Linked DNA regions of Homo sapiens: region 2 is linked to region 1. Evidence: promoter capture Hi-C in human tissues and cell types (Jung and others, 2019). All regions are on one chromosome and are shown on one strand. The core of a region is centred on a gene start or on the middle of the fragment in contact, and the rest is flanking DNA. Distances in the headings are between cores, read along the strand shown. Region 1 holds the start of USP29 (ubiquitin specific peptidase 29). Region 2 has its middle 62 kb from the start of USP29.

Evidence for each region. Contacts are between HindIII fragments. The study calls those that stand out against the background at their distance.
Region 2: a fragment that was not itself captured here is called in contact with the fragment with the promoter of USP29 in region 1 in 3 of the 25 tissues and cell types used here (neural progenitor cells, psoas muscle and spleen).

The regions. Positions count from the first base shown.
Region 1 is chr19:57,118,193-57,121,750 of GRCh38, forward strand. It overlaps USP29 (ubiquitin specific peptidase 29), which reads left to right and starts at 1,793. Exons shown (of 4, transcript NM_020903.3): 1 at 1,793-2,037. The HindIII fragment of the contact is 14,839 bases long and covers 1-3,558 here.
Region 2 is chr19:57,056,634-57,060,191 of GRCh38, forward strand. No RefSeq gene overlaps it. Among named protein-coding and RNA genes, the nearest start is that of USP29, 62 kb to the right of the region's middle. The HindIII fragment of the contact is 6,225 bases long and covers 1-3,558 here.

The DNA of each region.
Region 1 (3,558 bases), core at 543-3,042:
AGGAGGAAATGGGGTACAGAGAGCTTAAGCAACTTGCCAGTGTCATGCAGCAGGGAAGCGCTGGAGGCAGGGCTCCAACCCACGCAGCCTTGCTGCATGTTTGTGGAATGAACACAGGACTCAGGCACACAACCATCTGGCTGAGGCTCCATGAGCAGCCAGGAGCCTGGTCCCAATGCAGTCTCCTTATAGGCACAAATGGGGTGCCCCTTGAGACAGGAATAATAAAGGTGGTCACAGGAGAACGGAAAATTCCAGGCAACAGTTTCACATGACTAGCAAAGGAAACCGTTGAAATCGCTGCGTAAGCTAGGGGCGGATAAGACTCTGAAAACCAGGGTGTGGGCCAAGCTGGCTAAAGCCGACTGGACCCAACATGGTGCTGGATTCGACCCGTTTCACCTAGGACCTCTCATTATGTGCTCATTAACATACTAAGTCACACACCCACTGTGACAGCTCTGGGGAACACCCGTATTTAGTATAAAAATGTGTGGCACCGCAGTACCAAGAAATGTTTACCTTTTTCCAAGAATCTTCATGAATATTCCACCCCTTGGTTAAATAAATATTTAAAGGTAGCTCCAAACCCCGCTGGGCGTGATGCTCTGTGGTATGCCTGCACTTTTCTTTCTTCAGTACGTACTTATTCCCGTCGCAATGAATCTCCACACTTTGTTCTGCTCATCCATGAATTCCTTCTCACGACAGTGTCAAGAGCCTGGACACCAGTCAGGGTCGAGGCCTCACCAGCATCTTGGGGCCTCACTGGGCACAGACGCGTGAGCGCCCGGCCTGCAGACCTGACTCTGGCAGCCGCTCAGGCCCTCAGAGGGAGAGATGGAAGCTGGCAGGACGCAGTTGCTACCGCGCGGACCCGGCCCCCGACCAGCCTTGGCCCCTCGCGCGCCGGGACAGGGCCACAAATGACTGCACCTGGGCTTCGCTGGCCCAGGCACCACGCGACTCTAAGCGCGCCCAAAGCGACCCTCTGCGCAAACTACCCCCGGGGACGACGTCACCCGTGAGGTCCCGCGGCGCCTCCTCCTAAAGCTCGGCTGGGAAACCGTCCGCTTCCCCAAGACTTGGGGGCTTGTGGCCGAGTTGTTTTAGTTTTCCTGTAGGATTCACGGGTGGCTGAGGCAAACACGCTTGAAGGCCTAAGACTTTTAAGTCTCTTCCGCACCCTCTCTTCTGTCTCTTCCACCTGGAGGATGACCGCTTTTTTGGGGGTTTTGTTGTTGTTTTGAGACGGAGTCTCGCTCTGTCGCCCAGGCTGGATTGTAGTGGCGCCATCTCCGCTCACTGCAACCTCCGCCTCCCGGGTTCAAGCGATTCTCCTGCCTCAGCCTCCCGAGTAGCTGGGATTACAGGCGCCCACCACCATGCCCGGCTGATTTTTGTATTTTTAGTAGAGACGGGGTTTCGCCACGTTGGTCAGGCTAATATCAAACTCCTGACCTCAGGTGATCCGCCCTCCTCGGCCTCCCAAAGTGCTGGGATGACAGGCGTGAGCCACCGCGCCCGGCCGGGATGACTGTTATTAACAATTCCCGGCGTGGTTTCTAGCACCAGCCCACCTACCACACCCCACCTCGCTTGAGGCTGAATGGGTAACAGGATGAACCCGCCCCTGGGCTGGTTTTCTCTGAACCCTAACTCCTGCCGTTACGCCCCACCAGCTCTAGGCCAGGAACTCTATGTGCCCCGGCCACGCTAGAGCCCGTACCTAGACCCGTAGGTCGGGAGGCCTGCGCCCGGCACTGCGCAGACGCAGCGTGCTGTGCCCAGAACTCTTCTGTTCCCAGGAGAATCAGGGGAGTCGGCGCCGGAAGGGGCGGGTCCGAGCTGAGATTTCCAGAGCCATGGGAGCCGGAAGTCCAAGGAACTGTACCTCCATCATGACGACTCCGGTTACGTAAAAACATTCAAACAGAAAATGCTGGCCAGGCTCATGCCTGTAATCCCAGCACTTTGGGAGGCCGAGGCGGGAGGATCGCTTGTGCCCAGGAGTTGGAGACCAGCCTGGGCAACATAGTGAGACCCTCCCCCCACCCATCTCTACAAAAAATTTTAAAATTAGCTAGCTGAGATCATGCCACTGCACTCCAGCCTGGACAACAAAGTGAGACTATGTCTCAAAAAAATTTAAAAATTACCCACGCCTGTAGTGTCAGATAGTCAGGAGGCAGAGGTTGGAGGATGACTTGAGCCTTGGGGATCGAGGGTGTAGTGAGGTATGATCGCACCACTGCACTCCAGCCTGGGCAACAGAGCAAGACCCTGTCTCAAAAACTATATAAAAGAAAAAAGGGCTGGGTCGGTGGCTCACGCCTGTCATGCCAGCACTTTGGGAGGCCGAGGCGGGTAGATCACCTGAGGTCAGGAGTTTGAGACCAGCCTGACCAACAAGGTGAAACCCTGTCTCTACTAAAAATACAAAAATTAGCTGGCCATGATGGTGGGTGCCTGTAATCCCAGCTACTGGGGAGGCTGAGGCAGGAGAATCACTTGAACCCCAGAGGTGGAGGTTGCAGTGAGCCGAGATCACACCACTGCACTCCAGCCTGGGCGACAGAGCGAGAGACTCCGTCTCAAAAAAAAAAAAAAAAAAAAAAAAACAGAAAAAAGGCCGGGCACGGTGGCTCACTCCTGTAATTCCAGAACTTTGGGAGGCCAAGGCGGGCGGATCAGGAGTTCGAGACTGCCTGGGCAACATAGCGAAACCCCGTCTCTACTAAAAATACAAAAAATTAGCCAGGCGTGGTGGCGGGCTCCTGTAATCCCAGCTACTCAGGAGGCTTAGGCAGGAGAATCACTTGAACCCAGGAAGCAGAGGCTGCAGTGAGCCGAGATCACGCCATTAAACTCCAGCCTCGGTGACAGAGTGAGACTCCATCCCCGCTCCGCTCCCTCACCTCCCGCCAAAAAAAAAAAAGAAAATGCACTGCAATAGAAAAATAAAAGTACTACACTTTGGTCAAACAGGGTAACTACTAGAACGTAAAATGATCTTTTTGAAACTATCCACATTTGTTACACGTGTTGAAAATGTAGGATATATATGTTATATATATACTTATATATGTTATATATACTTATATATGTTATATACTTATATATGTTATGTACTTATATATTATATATACTTATATATGTTATATCTACTTATGTTATATACTTATATATGTTATATATACTTATATATGTTATACATACTTATATGTTATATATACTTATGTTATATACTTATATATGTTATATATACTTATACATGTTATACATACTTATATGTTATATATACTTATATATGTTATATATACTTATATATGCTATATATACTTATATATGCTATGTATACTTATATATGTTATATATATACTTATATGTATGTTATATATACTTATATATGTTATATATGCTTATATGTATGTTATATATGCTTATATGTTATATATACTTACATATGTTATATATACTTACATATGTTATATGTACTTACATATGTTATATATATACATATATGTTATATATATATAATTATATATATATAAAACA
Region 2 (3,558 bases), core at 283-2,782, 62 kb before region 1:
TACCTATATAACAAACCTCCGCATGTATCCCTGAACCTAAAATAAATTAAAAAAAAAAAAAAAGAAAGAAAGAAAAGAAAAAGACCCACAAGCCATTCTTGCTGCTGGAGTCTTCTGGAGTTTGGGTTGTTGTTGTTGTTGTTGTTGTCGTATTTTGTTAAAACATTCCTGTTCTTCTGAAAGGATACCTGGAGGCTTTATCTGGATTCCTAGGGTCCTCTATCCACAAAAAGTCAGTAAAGCCACGTCTCTAATTTTGGGAAAATGTGGGTGTGTGTCCTAAGACCCTCATGGTGGGTGGAATAATTTGCTATAGGGCAAGTTGGAGAGTGACCAAGGATGCCTCAAATAATGTCTCCCTTTTCATTACGGGGGAGTGCCTTTCAGAATTACACAGCAAGGGTGAATTATACGTTGACTCGTCATCTGTGACAAATTTCATGCAGCTCAAGGCTATCAACAGCAGCTCCCTTGCCAACAGCTTGCAGCAGCTGCCGCTGATCAAGGCAGTCAGCTCGATCCCCGTAGCCTTCCGTGAAGGACCACGGGCTGGTCAGAAGCAGTCTGACAGGTCACAGAGCCAGCCCAGCTGTTGGGGGGATTAGCTGTAAGGAAAGCTGATCCTATGACACATGCTTTAGGTATGTCCGCCCCTGGGAAACGTGACCTTCAAGGTTTGCGTTATAGAACTTTATTCGCTTCAAAAGATGGAGAACACTTTTGTTTTCTGAGTCCCTGGAGAATCATGATGCAGACAGCTTTGGAGGTACCCAAAGAAATGGAACACAGAATCCCAATTACATATAGGCCGCACACATGATAAACAACTGCTGGTTTGGGAATTGCTGGGCGAAGCTTCCTTTCGGCAGTTTGCTCAGAATATATTGCTGATGATTTCTGAGATGCTCAATTCATCATTCACAATTGCTTTGCAGTAAAATGCTTGCAGAAGGGAAAATAGCTGTGAACGCTGCTCCCCAAGGAGGAAAGCCTATAACTGCTGGAGCCAAAGATGTCATCGCAGGTTTTATCAGTATTTCATTTTCTTCCCATGAAACCGATAAGCATTCGAAGCCCTGAGTGTGGTGAGAATTAAGCAAGATTTGCCTCTTTCTGATTCTTTCCACAAGGTAGTGGGAATTTGAAATGGGAGAATGATGTTGTCCTATCTGTTGTGTGGAAAGATTACCTTGGCTTTGCTTGTGAGAAGGGATGGACGGGGGGGCAGTATCATGGAAAAAGTTTGAGAATATACAAAGGTAGGCAAAATAGCATAAGAAATCCCTTCTACTCATTGTCTGCAGTCATCAGCTCATGGCCCAACCTGTTGTGTCTATACCCCCATCACATCACTGGCATTGTTTGTAAAGCAAATCCCAGACATGATACCATGTCCTCCATAAACATTTCCATATCTGTGTTTTGTAAAGACTCTTGCAGAAAGCTGACTTCTGAACCAAAGCCCCATGCATATGTGCCCTTGGAAGGTCACTACCTGATACTGTCTATTGCTGGAAAAAGAGCAGCTTGCATAAGCATTTTTACCCACAAAACTGAAGCTATAGAATACACTAGGGAAATGCAGCTCATTGCTTGGGAGTTATGCATTAGATATGCTATGATCTGGTTCTACAGGCATTTATTGATTATTGACTCTTTGCTAGGAACTGTTTTGGGCATTAGGACATGGTCCTTGCCCCTGAGATACTCACCATCTAATGGAAGACACAGACCAAAAAACAAGTAATATAGTCAATGTCATGTGTGGTATGTAATAGCAAAATGTATCCCGTACTGAATGCTCCAGACTGGTGGAAAAATCATAATAAAATAAGAAGCAAGAACGGCAGCAGAATAGCTGGGGTTTACTGAGAACTTACTGTTTCGAGCACCCAAGATACAAAGCAACACGTTAGAGAAGATGGTCATTGTTTGGAAATTAGAGAAAAGCTGCTGGAAAAGAGGATTTAGAGATATAGTTTGGAGGACCACAACCAGCTTGCACATGTTTTTATGGTTTAGAAATGGCAACTCCAGAATTTTTTTTTTTTTTTTTGACAGAGTCTAGCTCTGTCGCCCAGGTTGGAGTGCAGTGGCGTGATCTTGGCTCACTGCAACTTCTGCCTCCCAAGTTCGAGCGATTCTCCTACCTCAGTCTCCCGAGTAGCTGGGACTACAGGCACATGCCGCCATACCTGGCTAAATTTCTTTCTATTTTTAGTAGAGATGGGATTTCACCATGTTGGTCAGGCTGGTCTCAAACTCCTGACCTCAGGTGATCCACCCACCTCGGCCTCCCAAAGTGCTGGGATTACAGGCGTGTGTCACCGTATCCAGCCCAGAATTCTGACCGCGTGGTTCTCAGTCCAAAAACATTGTCCCCCTTCCTGAGTCAGATGGCAACACAAAAATGCCTTGGGAACCAGCTGGGCCATTTCATGCAGCAGTAATTCTCTGGATCAGTCTCCTCGTGTGACTGATCCTGGTTTTAAGAAACTTGCTTCTATTTCCTGGTCAGAAAAGTCTCTCCCTCCTGCCTCATCTTTTCTACCCCTGTTTAGACACCACTCCTAGTTCAAAGCACCATTGCCTCCTGCCTGGATGGTTGTAGTGGTCACTCACCTGGTTTCCTTTCTTCTACTATTGCTCTACCATCATCAGCTCTCCTTAGAAATCAGAGGATCAGTGGGGTGTGGTGGCTCATGCCTGTAATCTCAGCACTTTGGGAGGCCAAGACAGGAGGATCGCTTGAGCCCAAGAGTAGTTCAAGACCAGCCTGGGCAACATAGTAAGACCCTATATCTTAACAAAAATATATATTTTGTATGTATATCTTTTTATATATATATTTGTATATATATTTATAGATGCATCTTTATATATATTTATAGATGCATCTTTATATATATTTATAGATGTCTTTATATATATTTATAGATGCATCTTTATATATATTTATAGATGCCTTTATATATATTTATAGATGCGTCTTTATATATATTTATAGATGTCTTTATATATATTTATAGATGTGTCTTTATATATATTTATAGATGTCTTTATATATATTTATAGATGTCTTTATATATTTATAGATGCATCTTTATATATTTATAGATGTCTATATATTTATAGATGCATCTTTATATATTTATAGATGTCTTTATATATTTATAGATGCATCTTTATATATATTTATAGATGTTTTTATATATATTTATAGATGTCTTTATGTATATTTATAGATGTCTTTATATATATTTATAGATGTCTTTATATATATTTATAGATGCATCTTTATATATATTTATAGATGTCTTTATATATATTTATAGATGTCTTTATATATATTTACAGATGTCTTTATATATATTTACAGATGTCTTTATATATATTTATAGATGTCTTTATATATATTTATAGATGTCTTTATATATTTATAGATGCATCTTTATATATTTATAGATGTCTTTATATATTTATAGATGCATCTTTATATATATTTATAGATTTTTTATATATATTTATAGATGTCTTTATGTATATTTATAGATGTCT